2 separate regions of the Homo sapiens genome follow, and region 1 is linked to region 2. Evidence: promoter capture Hi-C in 16 types of primary human blood cells and fetal thymus (Javierre and others, 2016). All regions are on one chromosome and are shown on one strand. The core of a region is centred on a gene start or on the middle of the fragment in contact, and the rest is flanking DNA. Distances in the headings are between cores, read along the strand shown. Region 1 overlaps KAT6A (lysine acetyltransferase 6A). Region 2 holds the start of POLB (DNA polymerase beta).

The links. Contacts are between HindIII fragments. The CHiCAGO score rates a contact against its expected background, and 5 or more counts as called.
Region 1: a contact is called between a fragment that was not itself captured here and the fragment with the promoter of POLB in region 2, in 5 of 17 cell types (activated CD4 T cells, naive CD4 T cells, total CD8 T cells and 2 more). The highest score is 7.6, in activated CD4 T cells.

What each region holds. Positions count from the first base shown.
Region 1 is chr8:42,033,477-42,040,594 of GRCh38, reverse strand. All of the region lies in intron 2 of KAT6A (lysine acetyltransferase 6A), which reads left to right. Among named protein-coding and RNA genes, the nearest start is that of KAT6A-AS1, 15 kb to the left of the region's middle. The HindIII fragment of the contact is 516 bases long and covers 2,907-3,422 here.
Region 2 is chr8:42,335,508-42,342,363 of GRCh38, reverse strand. POLB (DNA polymerase beta) reads right to left here and starts at 3,870. Exons shown (of 14, transcript NM_002690.3): 1 at 3,679-3,870; 2 at 3,295-3,352. The coding sequence starts at 3,739. It also overlaps the pseudogene RPL5P23. The HindIII fragment of the contact is 11,887 bases long and covers 563-6,856 here.

The DNA.
Region 1 (7,118 bases), core at 1,915-4,414, 300 kb after region 2:
CCTGGCTAATTTTTTGTATTTTTAGTAGAGACAGGGTTTTGCCACGTTGGCCAGGCTGGTCTCGAACTCCTGACCTCAGGTGATCCACCCGCCTTGGCCTCCCAAAGTGCTGGGATTACAGGTGTGAGCCACCATGCCCAGCCACCAATTTTTCTTATGCTTACAACCTAGACATTTTTCTAGCGAATAAGTACTTTACTCTTTCTTGGTCTACCTTCCAATTGGTGAAATAAAGGGAAGGAATTAATGAAGACATCGGGTACCACAAATGGCTTCAGGAATAGAAATCCAGAGGTTCTAATGGTCTTAACCTCGTTTTTTCTTTGCTCTGTATCAATAGGCTAAGGGAACGTAAAGAGTTGCTTATAGAAACCTATTAATAGCTAACATTTGTTAAGGGCTGATGATGTGTTAGGGACTTTTTTTTTTAAGTGTTTTAACATGTACTTTCTTATTGAAGTCTCAAAAGAATTCTATATGATTAAATTTTATAGGCATAATATATTTATATAATAGGTATTTAATAGTATTTAATCATACAAATTTTCGGCAGGGCGCGGTGGCTCACGCCTATAATCCCAGCACTTTGGGAAGCCGAGGCAGGCGGATCTCGAGGTCAGGAGATCGAGACCATCCTGGCTAACGTGGTGAAAGCCCGTCTCCACTAAAAAATACAAAAGAAAAAAAAAAAATATTAGCCAGGCATTGTGGTGGGCGCCTGTAGTCCCAGCTACTTGGGAGGCTAAGGCAGGAGAATGGCGTGAACCCGGGAGGTGGAGCTTGCAGTGAGCCGAGATTGCGCTACTGCACTCCAGCCTGGGTGACAGAGTGAGACTCCGTCTCAAAAAAAAACAAAAATTAATAATAATAATACAAGTTTTCATTATGTCTTATAGAAAACCAAATGGAAAATGAATATAAGGAAATGCAAAATACATTAAATTTCTTTTTACCCTTGCTGCCTGTTTTTTCTTTAGTTCATCCTGGACTTGTGGGCCAATACTTTTTTGTTATGTTTAATACTAGGAGAGCAAATACATAACAGGAACTGTGATGAATCTGGAAAGAAAATTTATATCATTCAGTCTTCCTGAAGCTGTAAGAATCTCCTTAACATCTATTAGATTTATTTTCTCTTTGCATTTAAAGTTTTGGAGAAAATATCTTTGTCATACTGACTTGGTTCTTAGCTATGTAAGAGGACTAAATCTAGGTGCGGAGTTTGCTGGTTTAAATAGAATTAAAAATTTATTTTTTTCTGGTGACCTGGAGAGTGTTTCTTAAAATTATAATAATGAATACTTTTCATGCTCTGATTTATGTATAGGAATTATTAAGAGCTTCACTCTGATAAAGTTATTTACCACTTGGCTACTCAGGGGTGGAGTCATTTCACAAAGGATCTGCAGCGAATGAATTAGACCAGGAGTAACTTCACCCTTCTGCTTGTCCCAGCTGGAGCAGGATTAGGACTCATTCAGCTGCAGCTGGTTCCCAGGAAAATGAAAGCAGTTCCTTCTGGTTTTTTCCTTTCATATGAAAGTCATAGTTCCCAGCAGATGGCTTTCATCAGCCCTGTACATGTATCTGTAAATTCAAGGCCAAGGAATTATTTTCAACTTCATTAGGGAACAGGTGAAGAAACCATTTGTAGTGTGGCACTATTTTATTAGGAGTTGAAATTAAGCATAGAGATTATAGTAGTATGCCATTCTGGGTCAAAATAGTTTTTAACTGTCAGCAATTTAAAGAAAAAAAAAGACTGCTAAGGAAAAGTAAGTCTGGCTGTAGTGTTGATTGAGGTATCTTTTATGGTTGAATTGTATTATGCTTACGAAACATAGATTATTAGAAAAAAAGACTTGTATCTTCTGCATTGTGTAGAATGTTCAGCCAGTAGCAATCTTGGATCACAGTGATTCTAATCTGATTTCACAAATAATAGGGAAATTTGAGAGCCAAAGAGGTTGAAGTGTCTTGTCCAGTGCCACACAGCCAGTTAATACCATCTGGAAGAATTGGTCAGGCCCTTCTCAATTTTGTGCTTTTTTCATTATGCTGTAGTACTGCTTTATAGTATTAGAGAGCAGTGAGCCTAAAATAATTTAGTTAGAATTCTCTTCCTTAATGGAAACCATAGAATAAACCTTGTCTAGAGAATATTGGTGGTATCGTAAACCACAAATATATAAATCTGCTATTTCAGTGTGTGAAAATAGCTATACACTCTTGTTAGAGTTTTGAAACAACTTTTTGGGAAAAGACTGCTTTCTTATGGCCCAAGTTAGAGGAATCAAGGTTTTCTTATGTTGTTGGCTAAATATTAGAAGGGGAACATGTTGAGCTACCTTAATGCTGGAAGAAAAAGTACTCCTTGAGTTTTGGGAAAAAAAGTCCATTTAAAGGTAAGTCTAATTTTCAGTAGGTCTGCAACACAAATGACCTCTGAGTGACTTGGATCATTGGTTAGAATTTAAAATTCTTGAGACTGAGCTAGAGATAGCAAGGTACAAACCTTTCTATTAATTAATGAAGTAATTTTTACCAAAGACATTAAATATGGGTGGACCAAAAGTGTATAGTCTAGCACTTCTATAAACATAGTGTCTGGGAGGAGCTTGAGAGATTTGTAATGTTACTTGTAAACAGACCGTGTGGGGAAGACCGCAGACAGCACATCATTTTTTGTCTTTATTGGTCTTTATGACTAACACTTCATCTCTGCATCACTTCTGCTTTGCTGTAAAACTTAGCAAGTACATTAGGATAGTGGCAAATAAAGATTAAGATTGAGGACAGATGTTTGTAAAATAACTGGGCGATTTTAAGATTATAGGTGTAACTTGTTAAGAAGAAGATAACTGGTGTGGAAATAAAATCTGGCAGCCAAAAAAAAAAAAAAAGCTTTCAATGTGTTAAAGAAGATAGTTGCTTCTTTTGCCGTTTACCTTTTATGTAGAATAGGTGATTCCGCAGATCTAGAGGTGTTGTCAGACTTGTACTATGGGCTGCGTTTTCCTCCAGGGAATTGTGAACTGTAGTTGACCTGAAGAGCTGCTAAGTGTTGGTTTTTAATTCTTTGAGCTTAGTAAAGTCTAGGTTCCTTTTTTCTTAGTCATTGGGTACAGTGAAGCATTTAACTCCTGAGTTTTCTAGAACCTTTAACAGAACTCTCAGAAACATTATTACTATTTTTGTGTGTGGAGTGTGATTCTGTACTTTAATAGTTTCCCAATTTTTCTATTCAGGGCATCTTTAAATATCTAACTTACTATTTAAACCCTCTTTCACCATTTTCCTGCCTTACTTTTTTCCATGCCACTCAGTTTTTCTTTAATTCTGTAACATAAATCCAAAGCCTTATTCTTTGGAAAGCAGTGGTACTTGGCACTAAATTCACTTTAGCATTACCTGAGGAAGCTTAAAAAATAAATACCAAACTAATTAAATTTGACTAGTAGTGAGGCCCAGGTTTCAGTTTTTTTTATTTTTTATTTTTTTAAGAATGTTTATCTGATGTGCAGCTGGGGTTGAGAACCATTGCTCTAATGCTTAGAACCAACATCTCTGTAGTGGGGACTGGCTAAGAGAGTCAGAAGACAGAAGAAGCAGGTACTTTTTAACCTCATAATTGACATTCAAACAAATGATGAAATAGCATGCTTCACACACACCCTCATGAACACACTTTGGACCCAGGACAGTGTACTTCTGGAAATGTACATTCTGTTTTATTGTCCTCCCTGGCTATAACTACTCTAATCTTCCACCTTTCTTTCTCCTTACCCTCACTGCTTTATCTCAAGAAGATCTTGTGTGGTATATAGTTGCGAGAAAGTTACCTGCATGATTCCGACAGGTGCCCTGCCATCACTCTAATGCTGTTCTCATTGCTTGGCCTTATGGCACATTCTCACTCACTCACTACTCCTGCATCATGTTGGCAAACTCCAGCCATTTACCACCTTCTCCTTTTTTTTTTGAGTTGGAGTCTTGCTCTGTCACCCAGGCTGGAGTGCAGTGGTGCGATCTCTGCTCACTGCAACCTCCATCTCCTGGGTTCAAGCGATTCTTCTGCCTCAGCCTCCCAAGCAGCTGGGATTACAGGTGCCTGCTACCACCCCTGGCTAATTTTTGTATTTTTTTAGTGGAGACGGGGTTTCATCATGTTGGCTAGGCTGGTCTTGAACTCCTGACCTCAGGTGATCTGCCCACCTTGGCCTCCCAAAGTGCTGGGATTACAGGCATGAGCCATCGTGCCCAACCTCTCTGCTTTAACTTTGGGGAAAATCTCATGACCATGTGGTGGGATGCCACTTACAAATTTGTGGCCTCCAATCTGAGCTCTGCCCTCTGCTTGAAGATGTATGTCTGTGTATAGTCTGTTCTGTCTGCAGAAATTCAGTATTTCTTCCCACCTTTTTTTCTCATTTTCAGTAGATACTCCCATATGCTACATCATAGAGATAATGGAATCTGTCCAATTGAGCTCATTGAGTTTATACCCCTCTCATGCCATCCTAAATACATCTGTGCTTATTTCTGCCCGCTTTGCTACCTTGTCATAGGACAGTGAAAGAAGTGTGAAAGGCTCATCTCTCCATTCTTTTTCAGGACCCCATTCTCTGCTACCTCAGGGGCCGTGTGCCATCAAAAATAGTCCCATTTTTTGACTCTATCATCTTTCTCGCTCACTTTTTAGTCCTTAGCAGGCAGAAGACTCTCCCGTTAGAGTAAAAACAACCAAAAAACCACTGCAGATCCTTCTTTCTATGTATACCCTGTCTGTTTCCATTCATTTTTAAACTTCTTGAAAAAAGTCTATATTCATTCCACGTCTGCTGCAATCTGGCTTTTGGCCCTAGAGCAGCACTATTTGAAACTGCTCTTGTGGACAGTTTTCAGTCTTATTTTACCTGAGTTCTCAGCTGCATTTAGCATTTGTTGACCATTCTTCCCTTTCCTCTGGGATAATTCTTAGATGTCTCCCCCTTCCTCCCATCTTTCTGGTAATTCCTTTTCAGTTTATTGGCGTTTTATCTTTTGCCTGTATCTAGATGTTGGATTCCCTAAGGTTCTGTTCTTCACTCATTTCTTACTGTTTTCTAGAGAGTTATCTAGAGATAACTTTCCTGAGTTATTTCTAGACCTCTGTGTTCTTTACTGATGACTCTAATTTCATATCTTAATTTGAGAGCTCTCTTCTGATCTCTGGACTTGTATATTCCATTGTGTAGTATTTTATGTCAGTCTCTTCAGATTCACAATGGCTCAGATGGAATTTATCAACTTCCTTTAACCGGCTGTCATTTCTTACAGTGGTAAGAGCCATTGCCATCGATTCTGATGCTTAAAATGGAAACTTTGGTGTCATCTTCCATACCTCACTTGTCTGTCTTTTGGATTCAGTTCTATTCCATCCCATGTCTTCTCTCTTACACTTTTTAACATCTCTTATTTAACCTCTTCTGTATTCGAGGTCCTCTGTTAGAGCAGGTCCTCATCATTTCTCTCCTGATTACCTTAGTAGTTTCTTCATTGATTTTCCTTCCTCCAGTATCATCTTCGTCTAGTCCACATTATTGCCAAAATGATCTTACTAAGAAATGATTAAGAACACAAGCGCAAAGACCAGACCATCTGGGCTTTCTATCCCACACTGGGACTACTTGCTTTATGACCTTGGGTAATTTGCTTAACCATTCTTTGCCACATTTTCTTCTATAAAATGGGGATAATACAGTGCTTATCTCATAGTGAAGTTGTGAGAATTTAATGAGTTAATATACATCTGGGCTGACAGAACTTTGTGCAATGATGGAAATGTTCTATATCTGTACTGCCCTCTGTGATAGCCAGAGCCATGTGTAGCTATTGAGCTCTTGCAATATGGCCAGTTGAGTGAGGAGCTGAATTTTAAATTTTATTTAGTTATAATTTAATTGAAATAGCCACATGTGGCTAGTAGCTGCTATAATGGACAGTACAGAATATGTAAAGTCCTTAGAAATAGTGTTTAGCACATAAGTGCTCCATAAATGTTAACTGTTATTACCATCTTTCTAAAATTAAACTTCTCTGCTTAAAATCCTTCAGTACCAAATTCTGCGATATAGTATATATGAGTTGTAACCCATTCCCGTGCGTTGCTCCAAACTTGTCAATTGCCACTTCTTCATAATGCCCTCTGTGTTCCACTGTACCAGTTCTCAAAGTGTGGATGTAGAGGACAGCACCAGCAATAGTATCCCCCAAAAACTTGTTTAAAATGCAGATTCTTGAGCCATATTTCAGGCCTATTCAATCAGAAACTGAATTTGGGGCTTTGCAACCCGTATGTTAGTAAGTCCTCCAGGCGATTCTGATGCACGCTTGAGTTCGAGAGCCATTGTACTGCATCAGTCTCCCTGCAGTTCCTCAGATCTATCTTGTTTTCCCTTGCCCCTATATTTTTCTCCTGTCTGGAATGATTGTTATCCATTTTTTCTTCCTCATAAATTAGCTCTTCAACCTTGCAGACTTAGTTTAGTCAAGTTTCTTTCTGTTTCTTCCTCCTTATCACCCACCCTGCTCCCAGGCTGACTTCAAGACCTGTCTTAATCTCCATGCTGCATATGTCCGTACACACTTGCATCATAGACCATTTTACATAGTACTTTTTTAGCCTGTCTCCTATTAGTGAATTTAGGTTCTTGTTTTTCGTCTTTGTATTTCCATCTATCTGGCAGTATCTGATTGTTTTGTTTATTTTTAATTTTTTTAATTAAAAAATTTTTAACTGTTTTGTTTGGGTTGTTTCATATGTATTAAGCATCTTCCAGGGGCCGGCACAGTGATTAGGAGTGACAGAGTAGGTAAAGCAGACATCGTCTCTGTAATAAATACACATGGTGATAAGTGCTCTGATGAAGTAAAATAGAGCACTGTGGAAACACAGAGGAGGGGGTGGAAAAAGTCAGGGAAGTCTGTTCAGAGGAAGTCACATGTGAAGTTAGTGAAGTGGGGAAGCAAATGGGTGCGGTGGGAAAGAGAGTAGTTCCTGAAAAGGGAACAGCATGTACAAAGGCCTAGAAGCAAAACATTGTATGCACATAGTAACTGTTTAATTGGATATGAAT
Region 2 (6,856 bases), core at 2,621-5,120:
CCTGACAAATTATGCTGCAACATATTGTACTGGCCTGCTGCTGGCCCACAGGCTTCTCAATAGGTTTGGCATGGACAAGATCTATGAAGGCCAAGTGGAGGTGACTGGCGATAATACAATGTAGAAAGCATTGATGGTCAGCCAGGTGCTTTCACCTGCTATTTGGATGCAGGCCTTGCCAGAACTACCACTGGCAATAAAGTTTTTGGTGACCTGGATGGAGGCTTGTCTATCCCTCAAAGTACCAAATGATTCCCTGGTTATGATTCTGAAAGCAAGGAATTCAATGCAGAATTACACCAGAAGCACAACATAGGCCAGAATGTTGCAGATTACATGCACTACTTAATGGAAGATAAAGATGCTTACAAGAAACAGTTCTCTCAATACATAAAGAATAGCATAACTTCAGACATGATGAAGGAGATGAAAGCTCATGCTGCTATAGGAGAGAATCCAGTCTATGAAAAGAAGCTCAAGAAAGAAGTTAAAAAGAGGTGGAACCATCCCAAAATGTCCCTTGCTCAGAAGAAAGATCGCATAGCTCAAAAGAAGGCAAGCTTCCCCACGGCTCAGGAGGGGGCTGCAGAGAGCTAAACCAAACAATTTTCTACGAGGATTTTTCAGATAAAGACAATAAACTTATGGACAGAAAAAAAAAATTGTTCCCACTGCAGTTCAGCATAAAGCGGTGACCTGTAATTCTTGCCCACCTCCACACATATCCAGTTTGTTAATCTGGTGACAGATTGGATACACCCTGGGAGCTCGCTGACGGTATTCTGTCTATAATTTCAATGCAAAATGTAATTCAGAGTTGATGCTGATGAGAAGTGACAGTACAGCTAAGTCAAAAGCATAAACACTGGATAGTCTTTGGAACCTTGGATTTGCATTCTGTTATAGCACAAATAACCCTTTATATTTGGATTTGAACTTCTCTCTAAGCACATGACTGATGATGAATCTGAAAAGACATATTTATAAGTAAAGGAGCAGGCAAACACAGTTTATGGAGGGGATCATTTCAGGAAAGGCAAGTAGTTCCAGGTCATTGGCACTGTGAGGCAAAGCCTAAAAGGGAAGAAGAATCAGATGAAAGGCCTTTTGTATGCTATGATGTATTTGGGTTTTATCAAGGTAAAGAGAAAATATTATTTAATTATTTGACTGACAAGATCAGATAACTATTTTCAAAAGAATACTTTGGCCACAATCAACAGAAATGTCTACTGGGGTAGGGAGGAGCATGCAGGAGTGGTAGGGAATCACCTGCTTTTCCAGACTTATTTCCCACTCATACCATACCCGTTAAGCAAACTGAACATCTGACTTCCAGAAAACGTTATACCCTTCATGTCTCAATGCTTTGGCACATTTTATTTGTCTAGACTGCTGGCCCTCTCACTTATCCCGATGAGCTTCTTCAAACTAAACACCTCCTTTCTGAGACCTGCTGTGATCCAAATAGAATACAAAGTTGAATATCTCTGTAATTTTGAATCATCAAATGTATGGATGATAATACAATTATTTTACTTTACAGAGGAAGTCACAGAAGTAAGGAAAGGAGGGAGCACAATCAGCTCTGAACTGTGTGGAGTGGGAATGGAAGAAGGGAGCTGACTTGGGATAAAGACAGTATAGGGCTAAAAATGTGGAAAAAAGTCCAGTGATACACAGATTTGGAGTCACTGACATAAGTGGCATTTCAAAGTCAAGAATGGCAAGATTGCCAGGGAAACTACAGAAGTAAGAAAAGAGGGCTAAGGGCAGGCAGACTCCCCGGAACCACAGGTTAACTATCCCTTATCTGAAATGCCTGGGACCAGCATTGTTTCAGATTTTGAATTTTTTTCAGGGTTTGGAATATTTGCGTATACATAATAAGATATCTTAGGGATATGGGAGATACAAGTCTAAATACAAAATTCAGTCATATTTCTCACACACCTTACGCACATACCCTGAAGGTAATCTTATATAGTCGTTTTAATAATTTTGTGCATGAAACAAAGTTTTGACCATTTTGACTGCCACCTACTACATGAGATCGGATGTGGAATTTTCCACTTGTGTCATCATGTCGGCAATCATCCAGATTTTAGAGCATTTCAAATTTTCAGATTAGGGATGCTCAACCTATACCAACATTAAAAGGTAAGACAGAAGAAGAGATGAAAGACCAGAAAGAGTGCCATTACAGAAGTCAAGAGATATTCACAGCATGAGCCAGGGGTGAATGCCACAGAGAGTCCAATAAGATGAGACGTAGGTGAGCGGATTTTCAGAGCACTGGTAGGTCCAGGCAAGGACTGGGACTTCTTGAGTAAATGATTAGGTATTAAGAAGTCCAGGCAAGGAATGAAGATTTTTCAAGAAGATTCACCATAAAGTGAGAAAAGAGGGAAGGTGCTAGCTAGAGGGAAGTTAAGATTGTTTTGGTTTTGCTTTTAAGAGCTGAGGGACTTGCACATATTTATAGGCTAAGGAGAGCTGACACCGAGGCTGATGCCTGGAATCCCAGCACTCTGGGAGACCAAGGTGTGTGGACCATTTGAGTTTAGGAGTTGGAGATCAGCCTGGGCAACATAGCAAAACCCGGTCTCTACAAAAAAAAAAAGAAAAAAAAAGAAAGAAAAAAAAATTAGCTGGGTGTGGTGGCGTGCGCCTGTAGTAGTCCCAGCCACTCAGGAGGCTGAGATGGGAAGATCACTTGAGGCTGGAAGGTTGAAGCTGCAATGAGCCATGATCATACCACAGCGAGACCCCGTCTCAAATAAAAATAAATAAATAAATAAATATAGGCTAAGGAGTAGAAGCAGGTGGATGTGGAAAGAATGAATAGGATAAGGCCCCTGGTGAGATGAACAAGGACAGGATCCCATGAACAAGGAACAAGGATCAGGATCAGGATCCCACAGGATCAACTTTAGACCAACCAAAAGAAAAAATGTGATTCCTTGAACCACATATATTTCACAGTATGGACTTCATCCGCTGTCTTTCATTACGGTTAAAATTACACCGCATTTCTAGTAATTCATGTTTGATGATGACAAAATACGTATCAGGCTACAGCTATCTGCAATCAGAATTGGGAACTTATCTGAACTGATCCTATAACGCACTGCCCACATTCTTCAAGAAATAGTAAGGTACCAGCCTCGATTCTTGCTTTTTCCCGCTCTTGCAGATGGACCAAATATCCACTGGGCCCTCAGTCCTGTTAATTGCCACACTAAACAGGGTATCCCAGAACGTATGCTACCCGAGAATGCTGCACTGTCCCACCTGTAAGCATTGTACTTGTGGATAGCTTGGCTCACGTTCTTCTCAAAGTTTGCGAGTTCTGAAAGGCAACAGAAGGCTCGGGTGAACAAGAACCACGAGTAAACAAACGAGAACTGTTTTCTGGAAGGGGATATGGCAGCCTCTAAGAGACAGTGACCACCCGTTTCCTCCAAGGGCCAGACCAAAAGCAGCCCAAGCGATGGCCCAGGTGTAGCCGGCAGGACTGACAACCAGCCAGGGGCGCCGGAGGGAGATCCCCACGGAAGACGACCCGCTGCAAGGAACCTACCCTACCCACTGGACTGTCGGTGTGGGAGAGAAGGAAGGCAGGGGAAGAGGCTGGAAGGAAAGAAGAAAGCCAGCGGGGCCCGGCCCGGTGCTAACCTGTGAGCATGTCGGTGATTCCCCCGTTGAGAGTCTCCTGCGGCGCCTTCCGTTTGCTCATGGCGGCCTGCACCCGAGAACCCCAGAGTGTTCAGAACCAGGGACTAGAGCCCTCTCCCAGCTTGAAGGAGGTACCAGGACTTGGAGACGGGAGCAGGAGCAACCCAGCTCCGGCGCGACCGGCGGAACAATGGTTGCCCCCGATGGGGGGCGGGGCGCACGGCGCTTGTTGTGACGTCACGCGTCCTGGGCGGGGCGGGGCGGGGCTAGAGGGGCGAGCCCTCGGCAGGTGAGGAGAGAGAACTCGGAGGGTTCGTGGACTCGTGGACGTGGACACGGCGCGGGGGAAATAGGCACCTCAGAATGACAGCCCAGGGGCCTTCCTATGGGAAGACCTGGAGTTTTGACCTAAGATATTAAATCTGTTTTCTCAGTGTTTATCTGGAATCCTTTCCCTAGAAGGGGAAACGGGAGTGCGATCTTGATTCTGAAATACTTGCGCTGGTGGGGTAGCTTCCTGCACAAAAATGTGCACTGTAATAGCTACCCAATGCATGGCGCGTTTTGTACGTGGTTAGAGGCGACACTGGCGTCACACTGTCAAAACTTTCTCTAAGGATACCGGGCAGTCCACACTCCAGTGCAGCCCCTTACGTACTAGGGCGCTGCCGGAGCCCGGCGTGAACCATGCCGAGAACAGGAATCCTCCCGCACACGTGTTAGTACACCTGCCAACCAGTGTCAAAAGATATTTTATTTTTAATCCCCCTGCCTTTGCGGTAGGGACCAAATTAATGAAGAGACCACAAGAAAGGGAGAAGTGTTTCATCTAGATCATGAGCAATGGAACCCTAATTATAACATGATGACCTACATCTGAGAAATTTACAGTCTGCTTGAGAAATGGAAATGTCACATCAGCAATAGTTTATTTTACAAGCGTAACTCCTGGGTTCATATCGAACTGCAATTCCAGGCAATTGCTTTGTGCATCGAAAAATTAAAATTTATTACAAAATGATACGTAGTTGCTGTAGAGAAATCTGGAAAAATGTATAAAAGGAGAAAATTAAAATCAGTGATCTCACCCTACAGCTGAACTATTAATATTTTGGGACGTACACTTCTAGTCTTCTAACCCAGTCTATTAAAAATTCCCATTATTTTCCAATAAATATCATTAGTTTCTTTGATTAGCAAGGTTGTGGTGATTGTGTTTCCTTACAATATCAGTGTATATCTTAAGTTATGCTTATTGGAAATCTGTAATTCTTCTTTTTTTGAATTTCCTATTCATATCATTTACCATTTTCCTAATGGGGGTAGTTTGTTACTAATCTGGTAGATCTTTTCTATATATTACTACTTGCCCTTTTATGGATAGCTTTTGTAAAAATTTTGTACATATTTGTATTTTCCTCAATTTATTACTTGAGGAATAAAAGTTAAAAAAACTTTATGCCTGCAACTTAACTATCTGATTAGTTAAGCTGCAGTGAGCAGTGACCACTCTCATTTACTCTTTATACTCTCATTTACATATATGACTTGTCCTAGTTTTCCCTGTTCACACTTTTTTCTGTCCAATCTCTATTCCAGGTGATATTCAGATTATTTTGCTCTGAAGAATTATTCCTCCTTAAATAAAAATGTATTTACCTCTGAATTTTAAAAGTTACAAATGTAGGGAATTGTGGGATCAGTTTTACAAATTTTTTTGTTTTGAGACAGAGTTTCACTCTTGTCCCGCAGGCCAGAGTGCAATGGCACGATCTCGGCTCACTGCAACCTCTGCCTCCCGGGTTCAAGTGATTCTCCTGCCTCAGCCTCCCGAGTAGCTGGGATTACAGGATCCTGCCACCATGCCCAGCTAATTTTTGTATTTTTAGTAGAGATGGGGTTTCACCATGTTGGCCAGGCTGGTCTCAAACCCCTGACCTCAAGTGATCCACCCGCCTTGGCCTATTAAAGTGCTAGATTACAGGCGTGAGCCACTGCACCTAGCCCATTTTTACAAATACTATATTTTTAAAATTAGTGCCAGAGAAACCAAGGAAAATAATCCATTATCTGTCCTTATCGTCTTAGAACAACCGACATTTGATCTGCTTCACAAAGTTCTTCTTGAAATAACTTGCTTCAATTGGCTTCTAAGATTCCACATGCTCTGGGCTTCCTTTTTCCTCACTGGCCAGTCCTCAGCAGGGTGTGTGTGTGCGCACATGTGCGCCTGAGCACTGGTTCCCAGCTCCTCCTCCACTCTCCAGCCTTTATGGGAAATGGCTTCACACTTCAGTCTTCTAACCAGCTTTTCCAACTTGTCCAGTTTTACCTGTTTAAATGGCATGTCTAGCTTGAAAGTCTCCTAAACTCATAGTTCAAGTCTTGACCTCTCCCTTGAGTTCCAGTCTCATACATCAGGCTGTCTACTGGATAGCTCTAGTCCATAATAGGCATCTCAAAGATAAAATGTCCTAAAGAACTCCTGACTCTTGCCCCACCAGCTTCTCCTTAACTTTCCCCCATCTCAGTTAATAGCATTTTAATCCACCCTGCTATCAGGCCAAACCCATAAGAGTCATTTTTAATTGCTCTTTTCACACCCCACATCCCGTCTGCCAGCAGACCTTGTCTGTTCTGTCTCAGGAATATGTGCTGAACTGGATGACCTCTCATCCCGAGCTGCCACTGCCCTAGATCAAACTCCCATGACCTCCTGAACTGTTACCAAAGCCTCCTCAGTGGGCTTCCTGCTTCTGCTCTTGTCCTCTTATAGAATATTCCCCAAACAGAGGGTGATCTTTTTAGGATGTAGTATCAAAATATGTCCCTATTTATACACCCTCCCACTGCACTTAGGATAAAATCCAAGCTCCTGGCGGGGCGCAGTGGCTCACACCTGTAATTCCAGCACTTTGGGAGGCTGAGGCAGGCGGATCACCTGAGGTCAGGAGTTCAAGGTCAGCCTGGCCAACATGGTGAAACCCCATTTCTACTAAAAATACAAAAATTAGCCAGGCGTGGTGGTGGGCGCCTGTAATCCCAGCTACTTGGGAAGTTGAGGCAGGGAGGTTGAACCCTGGAGGTGGAGGTTGCAGTGAGCCAAGATCGGGCCACTGCACTCCAGCCTGGGCAACAAGAGTGAGTCTCCAAAAAAAAAAAAAAAAAAAAAAAAAAA